Regions from separate parts of the Homo sapiens genome. Here region 1 is linked to region 2. Evidence: promoter capture Hi-C in human tissues and cell types (Jung and others, 2019). All regions are on one chromosome and are shown on one strand. Each heading gives the region's core, a stretch centred on a gene start or on the middle of the fragment in contact. The rest is flanking DNA. Distances are from core to core; before and after follow the strand shown. Region 1 overlaps ST3GAL2 (ST3 beta-galactoside alpha-2,3-sialyltransferase 2). Region 2 holds the start of DDX19A (DEAD-box helicase 19A).

Region 1 (5,516 bases), core at 2,695-5,194, 61 kb after region 2:
ACTTGAGCCCAGGAGTTCAAGGTTGCAGTGAGCCGTGATCATGCCATGGCACTCCAGGATGGGTGACAGAGTGATACCACAACTCGAAAAAAAAAAGAAAGTTTTTTAGACATCCACATGCAGTTGGAAACAGGCAGTTGAACACACCTGTTTGAAGCTCATGGGTGAGGTCAGAGTTAGAGGGATATATCTGAGAGTCATCAGAGTACAGTTCATTCTTAAAACTACAGGACCAGAAGAAAAGATCTAGGGAGGGTCTACCACAGACAAGAGTAGGCGGCTCAGGACAAAGCCTGGGGTACTCTGCTGTCTGAAAGAGAAGCCAGGAAAGAAACAGCCAATGAGGCAGGGGGAAAAACAGCCCTGCATCTGGGAAGCCAAGAGAAGAAAGTTTCGAGAATGAAGGAGGAATTAACAGTGTCAAGTGTTTGAAAAAGTAAGGCGAGGACTGAGAACTGACCACTGGATGGAGGGCAGTGGTGACCTTCACAATGACTGATCCAGGGGTATTGCGAGGCTCAAGCACAGGAAAAGATGCTCAACGTCATTAATCATCAGGGAAATGCAAATCAAAACCACAATCAGATACCACTTCCTGCCCATCAGGGTGGCTGTAACCAACAAGACAGATAATAACCAGTGTTAGTGAGGACGCAGAGACATTGGAACCCTCAGACTTTGCTATTGGGAATGTGAAATGGTGCAGTCGCTTTGGGCAACAGTCTGGCAGTTCCTCAAAAGATTAAATATACAGTCACCATAATATATGACTCAGCAATTCCACTTCTAGGTATATACTCAAGAGAAATGAAAACTTAGGTTCACATAAAAACTTGTACACATGGCCGGGCACGGTGGCTCACACCTGTAATCCCAGCACTTTGGGAGGCCAAGATGGGCAGATCACGAGGTCAAGAGATCAAGACCATCTGGCCAACTTGGTGAAACCCCATCTCTGTTAAAAATACAAAAATTAGCTGGGCATGGCTGGCGTGCGCCTGTAGTCCCAGCTACTCAGGAGGCTGAGGCAGGAGAATCGCTTGAACTTGGGAGGCAGAGGTTGCAGTGAGCCGAGATCGCACCACTGCACTCCAGCCTGGCGACAGAGTGAGACTCCATCTCAAAAAAAAAAAAAAAACACCTCATACACAAATGATTTATAGCAGCATTATTCATAAGAGTGCCAACATGGAAACAACTCAAAGTTCCATCAACCAATACATAAATAAACAAAATGTGGTATATCCATACAAGGGAGTATTATTCAGATATAAAAAGGAATCAAGTTCTGGCACTGCTACAGCATGGATGAACTTGAAAACCCTGTGCTAAGTGAAAGGAGCCAGGCACAGCCTGGTGCGGTGGCTCACGCCTGTAATCCCAGCACTTTGGGAGGCCGAGGCAGACGGATCACGAGGTCAGGAGATCGAGACCATCCTGGTTAACATGGTGAAACCCCATCTCTACTAAAAACACAAAAAATTAGCCGGGCATGGTGGCGGGAGCCTGTAGTACCAGATACTCGGAAGGCTGAGGCAGGAGAATGGCATGAACCCGGGAGGCGGAGCTTGCAGTGAGCCGAGATTGCGCCACTGCACTCCAGCCTGGGTGACACAGTGAGACTCCGTCTTAAAAAAAAAAAAAAAAAAAAAAAAAAGGAAAAAAAGGAATAAGGCACAAAAGGCCCCATGCCAGATGATTTATGTAAAATGTACAGAATAGGCAAATCCATAGAGACAGACAGTAGATTACCAGTTGCCAGGGGCTGGAGGATAGAGAAGAATGGGGAATGACTGCCAGTGGGTTGGAGTTTTCTTCTGGGGTGATGTTCCAAAATTGTTTGTGGTGAATAGGTTAAAAGCCACTGACAGCCAGGCGCGGTGGCTCACGCCTGTAATCCCAGCACTTTGGGAGGCCGAGGCAGGTGGATCACGAGGTCAGGAGATCAAGACCATCCTGGCTAACATGGTGAAACCCCGTCTCTACTAAAAACACAAAAAAATTAGCCAGGCATGGTGGCGGGCGCCTGTGGTCCCAGCTACTCAGGAGGCTGAGGCAGGAGAATGGCGTGAACCCGGGAGGCAGAGCTTGCAGTGAGCCGAGATCATGCCACTGCACTCCGGCCTGGGCAACAGAGCAGGACTCCGTCTCAAAAAAAAAAAAAGCCACTGACTTGTATGTTTCAAAGAGATGAACTGCATGGTGTGTGAATTATAGCTCAATAAAGGTGTTACAACAAAAAGAGAGAATGGTGCTGGGCGTGGTGGCTCACCCCTGTAATCCCAGCACTCTGGCAGGCCGAGGTGGGCAGATCACCTGGGGTCAGGAGTTCAAGATCGGCCTGGCCAACATGGTGAAACCCCATCTCTACTAAAAATAACAAAACTTAGCTGTGGGTGGTGGCAGGGCCAACATGGTGAAACCCCATCTCTACTAAAAATAACAAAAATTAGCCGGGGGGTGGTGGCAGAGGCACCTGTAGTCCCAGCTACTAGGGAGGCTGAGGCAGGAGAAATGCTTGAACCCAGGAGGTGGAGGTTGCAATGAGCCGAGATTATGCCACTGCACTCCAGCCTGGGCTGGAGTGGGGGGCCAGGCACAGTGGCTCACAGCTGTGATCCCAGCACTTTGGGATGCCGAGGGTGGCGGATCTCCTGAGGTTAGGAGTTTGAGACCAGCTTGGCCAACATGGCAAAACCCCATCTCTACTAAAAATACAAAAATTAGCTGGGTGTGGTGGCATGCGCCTGTAATCCCGCTACTTCGGAGGCTGAGGCAGGAGACTCGCTTGAACCTGGGAGGTGGAGGTTGCGGTGAGCCAAGATCGTGCCACCGCACTCCAGCCTGGGTGACAGAGTGAGACTCTGTCTCAAAAAAAAAAAAGGAATGGGATGTAAGAGAGTGGAATGTGGAATGGGATTCAGCTGAGAGATGGTCTAGAATGTGTGTACACTGATGGGAATGAATTATTAGAGGGGAAATTTATGATCCAGGAAAAAGAAGTGAACAGAGGAACAAAGGCCGGGAGCAGCACGAGATGATGGCATCGAGTGTCGTCCTGGAGGGGGGCTACCTGTGGGACAGGTGGCAAAGCCGAGCAAGCGGCACAGACAGTGAGGAGTGTCCCTTTATTGTTGGGGTTGGAGATTTACAGAGAGACCAGATGTGAAATAGTCTTCTAAAAGAGAAAGGGAGTAACTAGGGAAATTTAGGAGGTGGCAAGACAACACTATGGCCTTTTTTTTTTTTTTTATGGAGTCTCACTCGGTTGCCCAGGCTGGAGTGCAGTGGCGCAATATTGGCTCACTGCAACCTCCACCTCCTGGGTTCAAGCAATTCTCCTGCCCCAGCCTCCCAAGCAGCTGGCACTATAGGCCCGTGCCACCACGCCCAGCTAATTTTTGTATTTTCAACAGAGATGAGGTTTCGCCATGTTGGCTAGGCTGGTCTCAAACTCCTGACCTCAAGTGATCCGCCTGCCTCGGCCTCCCCAGGTGCTGGAATTACAGGTGTGAGCCACTGTGCCAATACTACAGTCTTCTAAGAAGTTTGTGGTCACAAATTTGGCAAATTTGGGGAGACCATTTATCAATAAATGTCCCCTGAATGGCTGGTCCATGTCCAAGTTGCTGAGGCTGTCCAGAGGAACTGGCAGCCAGGATCCAGAGGTCAGGGGCAGCAAGGGCCTTGAAGACCCCGCCTTCCATCCTCAGGAGATGCAGCCGAAGGGCTACTTCCACCTCCCAGTACAAGGAACCTCAAAGGAGACCCTCACCAGCACGCAGGTAAATGGAAGGAAAAAACAAAAGCACCTGATTGAGGAGCAAAGCAAAGAGTGCCCCAAAACGAGAACAGCAGGGACTGTTTTGGAGGCTGTAGCAGCTTTAGAGCCAATTCTCGGTCAGATCCCAGGAGACAGCCATCAACGACTTAACCTAATGAAGCACAGGATAAGCACCACCTCAGACCAGCACAGCTGAATACAACCTTCTTGGCATGCAGAGAAAAGAAACGTCAAAATAAGGCACGGAGCCTGGGGGGATGGGTGCTGCTTGCCTCTGGGAGGGAGAGGAGAAAGACGAAAGATAAAGCCCCTCTCCACCCACTTACACACAGCCTGAGGACGTGTCCCAAAGCTCATTCTAAAGGCATGAAGCCACAGCCTACTGCTCCAATGGACCGATGCTTTATGAACCTCTGAGCATTTTCGGGGGATAGCCTCTCATTTAGTATGCGCAGGAGTCCCAGGACCAGCTGAACAAGGTCAGCCAGGCGGAAGTGAAGATGCTTTAACGCCATGCCAGGTCTGATGACTTCAAGCCCAGAGCTCCTTCCACAGCCCCCACTGCCTTCCCAAAGCACTCTTCCACTAACTGGGGTACAACCATCAAAACATTCGCTGTGCCCCAGATCCCTGCCAGCCTAGCAACCCAGAACACTCCCTGCCTCCTGGGTGGGGGGCAGCACCCAAACCAGGCAGAAGGAGCTGGGGCGGAGGGGTGGGGGTGGGCGCAGGTGGCCAGTTACCGAAAGCCCCTCCCTCCCCAACAACTCAAAAGCAGCGAGGCCTGTCCTTGACCTGTCTGAGAATGGGCCGCTTCACCACCCTGCTTGGTTAACTGAAGTCACCCGCACTGCAACACCCTGGTATCAGCCTCTGGCACAGACCCCTCAGTGCTACCCTAGGGACTCAGGCCCTTTCCACTCCGCAGCACCAAACCCTCGGGCAGCCCCTCCCTTCCTGCAGGACATCCAACTTTGACTTTATATCCATCTGAAATCTCAGCTCTGGTACCTCTTGATGCCGCCCAGAGTTTGTAGCCAGAAACCCAGAAGGCAAGAGCTAACACACTTCTTCAAACCAAGAGCATAACTTTGGCTTTCAATGAAGTCCTAGAGAAATAAACTGTCAGTCTTCTCTGGACAAAGATCGAGGCTGCACCCTAACAGCCTCTTCCTGTAGGAGACAGCTCAAAGAAACAAAAAAAAAAAAAAAAAAAAAAAAAAAAAAAAAAAAAGAAAGAAAAAATAAAGAAACGGCCTCTAAGAGGAGGAAGCTGGGCCCTGAGGCACGGGGAGAGGGTGCGGCAGGGGAGTTGGGGTGAAGGGTCCCTTCAGATCCACCACCTGCTACCTCAGGAGGGAGCCCCACTGTGTTTTGAGTCGGAGTGGGCAGGGGGAAATCCAGTATCTTGCTGTACCTATCTACACTAAGGCATGAAGTAACGTCTAGAAAAACAGTTCTCGGCTGGTTGTGGTGGCTCACACCTATAATCCCAGCACTTTGGGAGACTGAGGCTGGATGATCGCTTCAGTCCAGGGGTTGGAGCCTGGGCAACAGAGTGAGACCTCATCTCTATTTTATGAAAAAAGTTCAAACCACCTGTGTGGGGAAGACCAGGTCTCTCCACATTCTAGCTAGCTTCCCGCCTCTGGCGGCTTTTTTTTTTTGAGACGGAGTTTTGCTCTTATTGCCCAGACTGGAGTACAATGGCGTGATCTTGGCTCACCGCAAC
Region 2 (5,644 bases), core at 1,100-3,599:
GGCGCACCCCACCACACCTGGCTAATTTTTTTTTTTTTTTTTTTTGAGACCGGGTCTCCCTCTGTTGCCCAGGCTGGAGTGCAGTGGCGCGATCTCAGCTCACTGCAAGCTCTGCCTCCTGGGTTCACACCATTCTCCTGCCTCAGCCTCCCGAGTAGCTGGGACGATAGGCACCCGCCACCACGCCCAGCTAATTTTGTTTTTGTATTTTTAGTAGAGACAGGGTTTCACTGTGTTAGCCAGGCTGGTCTCGATCTCCTGACCTCAGGTGATCCACCTGCCTTGGCCTCCCAAAGTGCTGGGATTATAGGCATGAGCCACTGCGCCCGGCCCTAATTTTTGTATTTTTAGTAGAGGTGAGGTTTCGCCATGTTGGCCAGGCTGGTCTCGAACTCCTGACCTCAGGTGATCCACCAGCCTTGGCCTCCCAAAGTGCTAGGGTTATAGGCGTGAGCCACCGCCCCCGGCCCTTTTTTTGATTTTTAATCAACATTATTGAAAGGTATAATTTATATACCATGATATTTTAAATGCACAAGTTCTCACACAAAAATTAGCCAGGGGTGGTGGCGAAGTGCTATATTCCCAGCTGCTGGGGAGCTGAGGTGCGAGGATCACTTGAGTCTGGGAGATCAAGGCTGCAGTGAGCTGTGAACGTGCCACTGCATTCCAGCCTAGGTGACAGAGCAAGACCCTGTCACAAAAAACAAACAAAAACAGTTATTCTTCCTTGGGAACTGCTTATAAAAAAGAAAAAGCAGGTCAGCACTGTGGCTCACACCTGTAATCCCAGCACTTTGGGCGGCCCAGGCAGGCAGATCCTTGAGCTCAGGAGTTCAAGGCCAGCCTAGCCAACGTGGTGAAACTCCATCTCTACTAAAAATACAAACATTATCTGGGCGTGGTGGCGTGTGCCTGTAATCCCAGCTACTTGGGAGGCTGAGGCAGGAGAACCGCTTGAATCCAGGAAGCAGAGGTTGCAGTGAGCCAAGACCCGGCCACTGCACTCCAGCCTGGGTGATATCTGTAAATAATGGTTCCATGAGTTTAGAAATACAAAGTAGCATGACTTAACAAATTTACACATCTATGTAACCAGGTCCCAATCAAGATACAGAATAATTCTATCACCCAGGAAGTTCTCTTGTGTCTGGACCAAACATCCTTCTCCACAGGTAAGCTCTGTTAGTTTTTATCAGCATAGATTTTATTTGTCCTATTCTTGAATCTCATATAAATAGATTATACATTATGTATTTGGTGGTCCTTCAACATAATGGCCAGGTGTGGTGGCTCATGCCTGTAATCCCAACACTTTGAGAGGCCAAGGCAGGAGGATCTCTGGAGTTAGCAGGAGATCAAAAGCAGCCTGAGCAATATAATGAAGACTTCCGTCTCTGCAAAAAGTTTAAAAACTAGCCAGGAGTGGTGGTGCGGGCCTGTGGGCCCAGCTACCTGGGAGGCTGAGGTGGGAGGTCAAGGGTGCAGTGAGCCGAGATCACACCACTGCATTCCAGCCTGGGCGACACAATGAGACCCTGACTCAAAAAAGAAACGAAAAAACGCATTGTGTGTTGTGTTTATTGGATGGTGGAATTATGGGGTTTACGGGTCTTCTGTTGCGTTTTGGTTTTTGTTTTCTTACCTGTTATCGCGTTCCTAACAGTAGAAATTGGCATCATATAGTATTCTCATGGAACTTTCCTTTGTTCAAAGCCCTACAGTTCAGAGACTTACACATTTAATGTGAGATATGACAGGCTTAAAAAGAAACGTTGGGGGCCGGGCGCGGTGGCTCACGCCTGTAATCCCAACACTTTGGGAGGCTGAGGCGGGAGGATCACAAGGTCAGCAGTTCGAGATCAGCCTGGCCAACATGGTGAAACCCCATCTCTACTAAAAATACAAAAATTAGCCGGGCGTGGTGGCGGGCACCTGTAATCCCAGCTACTCGGGAGGCTGAGGTAGAATAGCTTGAACACGGAGGCGGAGGTTGCAGTGAGTCGAGATCCCGCCACGGCACTCCAGCCTGGGACAGAGCGAGACTCCGTCTCGAAAAAAAATAATAAAATAAATAATAAAATAAATAAAATAAAATAAACGTTGGCTTATTTCAGTGTGAAGTAAGGCAATAAACGGAGGGCTAACAGTTCCACTTCGTAGAGCTCAGACATTTTAAGAAGCGAGGAGGCCGCGTCCTGGAAGGGTGAGCAAAAAGCGCGAGGTTTGCGCACGAAGGGAAAGGCGAGGCCCGAGGAGAGACCTGGCGCCGCGCAGAATGATGATGTCGCACGCTGGGTGGGAACTGACGTCACCTGTGCTCACCGCCGCTTCCGGTCCGCGTGAGGTGCATTCTCGCGCCGGTGGCGAGGTTAGGGCCCGCGTTGCGACGTGGTGCAGCGCATATTTTCACAAGTGGGTCTCCCTTGTCCGGGACTATGGCCACCGACTCGTGGGCCCTGGCGGTGGACGAGCAGGAAGCGGCTGTCAAGTCGGTCAGTAGCTCAGCTCCTGGCGAGGAGGACGTAGCAGGGGCCCAAGCGAAACCTCCCAAAAGCACAGGGAGCTCCCCGGGTTGGGGAGGCCCCTGGGCAACGCGCTCCTGCAGTTTGCTAGGGCAGTCACTTGCCCTTGATTTGCTCTTAGAGCTAAAGAGACCAATGTCGAGCTTTTTATCTCCATCTGGGCTGGTTAAGGACTTCATCCTTTGGTAAATCCGCCCCACTATGCATGCTGTCATTCCTCTATTGACCTCCTCGGTGACGATTATAAGGAAAGCCAAGTTTAGATTCTGATTCTCTTTTTCATTACGCGACTGTTCTTCGCATGTTTCTGTACTACTCTGTATTTAACATTTCTTAGATCCATGCTTAACGTGGTTGGTAGTTTGTAGCTCTTTGCAGAATAACAGATTGACTTTTGGATTTAATACCTCAATCTACTGCAGATGTTGGAAGGAGGCACTACAAATTGTTTCATTGATGTGTAAAGTAACGGTTTCATGTACTTGTTCTTTCAGTAATGAATATTCATTCAACTGGAATGTAATTACAGCATACACTGTGGCTTTCTGTTCTTATATCTAAGACCTAAACTTTAGGTTTGTTTAGTGATAATGGACTGTCTTTTTTTTTGTTGTAGTTGTTTCTCTTTTGAGGCAGAGTTTTGCTCTTGTTGCCCAGGCTGGAGTGCAATGGCGCCATCTCGGCTCACCGCAACCTCCGCCTCCCGGGTTCAAGCGATTCTCCTGCCTCAGTCTCCCGAGTAGCTGGGATTACAGGCATGCGCCACCACGCCCGGCTAATTTTGTATTTTTTGTAGAGACGGGGTTTCTCCATGTTGGTCAGGCTGGTCTCGAACTCCCGACCTCAAGTGATCCGCCCACCTCGGCCTCCCAAAGTGCTGGGATTACAGCCGTGAGTCACCGCGCCCAGCCGGTATGGGGATTTTTGAGAGGGCTATTGACAGAATTAGACAAGGCTGGCAAGGATTTATTGAACTACAGAGAACAGAATATGTTAGAAGTGATGGCTAATAGAAATATCAGTGTAGAAGTTATTCTGATAGCCCCGAGATAGAGGGCCTATGTTGGGCAGTGGAAGTGAAAATTAAGGGATGGGTATAAGATATGAAGGTAGAATGGGTAGGACTTGCTAACATAATAAAGGAGAGAAGGGAGATAAAGCCAAAGGTTTCTGTTTTCAACCTGGATCCTATTGGTACTACTAACGTCCCAATAACAGGAATAGGAAAGTGGGAGGAAGGGCAGATTTGATAGAATGGTGAAGGCAGCCGGGCATGATGGCACCCACCTGTGATCCCAGCACTTTGGGAGGCCGAGGCGGGCAGATCACTCGAGGTCAAGAGTTTGATACCAGCCTGGCCAACATAGTGAAACCCTGTCTCTACTAAAAATACAAAAGTTAGCCAGGCGTGGTAGTCGTCCCCTGTTAATACCAGCTACTCAGGAGGCTGAGGCATGAGAATTGCTTGAACCTGGGAGGTGGAGGTTGCAGTGAGCCAAAATTACGCCACTGCACTCCAGCCTGGGCTACTGAGTGAGACTCTGTCTCAAAAAAAAAAAAAAAAAAAAAAAGAGGTGAAGGCTGGGCACAGTGGCTCACACCTGTAATCCTAGCACTTTGGGAAACTGAGACAGGCAGATCAGTTGAACCCAGGAGTTCAAGACCAGTGTGGGCAACATGGCGAAACCCCATTTCTACAAAAATACAAAAAAAATTAGCTGGGCGGGGTGGTGGTACACTCCTGTAGTCCCAGTTACTCAGGATGCTGAGGTGGGAGGATCACCTGAGCCTAGGGAGGTTGAGGCTGCAGTGAGCTGTGATCACACCACTGCACTCCAGCATGGGTGACGGTGAGACCCTGTTTCAAAAAAAGAAAAAAGGGAATGGTGAGTTCAGGTTTGGCTGTTCTGAATTTAAAATAAGGAAACATCTTGGTAAGTACCTGTTGTGGGAGTCCCCAAGAGATGCCAGGTTTGACGATTTGTTAGGAGAACTCACAGGCTCAGTATGTAGTTGTACTCACAACTATGATTTATTATAGTGAAAAGATACAAAGCAAAATTAGTGGAGGAAAAAGGCTCATGGGCTAAGTCCAGAGGAAACCAGGCAAACTTCCAAGTTATCTCCCAATGGAGTCCACAGAGTGTGCTTCATTCTTCCGGTAGCAAATTGTAACAGCACATATGAAGTGGTGTCAGGGAAGCTTGTTAGAGACTCTACTTGAGGCTTTTATTGGGGGGCTGTCATATAGTCACCCTGTGCCTAGCATGTACCAGAATTCCAGACTTCCAGAAGGAATGCAGGTGGTTAGCATAAATTACATGCAACTGTTTTTAAAAAGAGTTGAGGCAGACTGACCCCCTCTTATCAGTTCTAGGAATGATGGGAACCTTCCCAAAGTCCAAGTTCGCAGGTGACAGCCAAGGGCCAGCCTTGCAAATAGGCTTTCCTAAGGAGAGCGGTCAGGCCTGCTGTGTTCTCTTCTGCCCGGTAGCCATCAGACATTTGGAAATACAGCACTGGAGTTCAGGAGAAGGAGCAGGTCAGAGGTATAAAACTGGCAGTTTCCACAAAGAAATTACAAAGCATTATCAAGGGCATGGTCCTTGCACTCTGGAGTTTAAAATCTAGCGTTTAGCATCAGATCTTCTCTGAAAGAGTTACTGAGAATTGGTTTCAAACCTTGTGAAATCTGTGATCCTAACCTAGCTGTGACATGAATATCACAAATATAGGCCTAAACATACTTGGTATCTGGTTCTAAGCATCCAGCTTATCAGAAGGCTGGTATAAATAAAGGCTTCCTAATAGTTGGAGAAGACCTTTTTTTTCACCATGTAGACTTGTGTACCTTCACTTAATAAATGATTCATGGTCTTAGGTTATCATGTGGTTCTGCTCTCTAGTGTAGAGATAACCAATGAAAGTGACAGAAGGCTGGGTGCAGTGACTCACACCTGTAATCCCAGTGCTTTGGGAGGCCAAGGTGGGAGGATTGCTTGAGCCCAGGAGTTCGAGTTTGAGTTCAAGTAGGCATGGTGGTCCACACCTGTGTTCCCAGCTACTAGGGAGGCTGAGGTGGGAGGATCGCTAGAACCCAGGAGGTTGAGGCCGCAGTG

Evidence for each region. Contacts are between HindIII fragments. The study calls those that stand out against the background at their distance.
Region 1: a contact is called between a fragment that was not itself captured here and the fragment with the promoter of DDX19A in region 2, in 1 of the 25 tissues and cell types used here (pancreas).

What each region holds. Positions count from the first base shown.
Region 1 is chr16:70,403,910-70,409,425 of GRCh38, forward strand. All of the region lies in intron 1 of ST3GAL2 (ST3 beta-galactoside alpha-2,3-sialyltransferase 2), which reads right to left. Among named protein-coding and RNA genes, the nearest start is that of ST3GAL2, 32 kb to the right of the region's middle. RefSeq lists an enhancer at 753-922. The HindIII fragment of the contact is 9,507 bases long and covers 1-5,516 here.
Region 2 is chr16:70,344,554-70,350,197 of GRCh38, forward strand. It overlaps DDX19A (DEAD-box helicase 19A), which reads left to right and starts at 2,350. Exons shown (of 12, transcript NM_018332.5): 1 at 2,350-2,495. The coding sequence starts at 2,439. It overlaps DDX19A-DT (DDX19A divergent transcript), which reads right to left and starts at 2,194. Exons shown (of 5, transcript NR_039997.1): 1 at 1,646-2,194. RefSeq lists enhancers at 1,350-1,968, 1,969-2,586, 2,105-2,594. The HindIII fragment of the contact is 37,288 bases long and covers 1-5,644 here.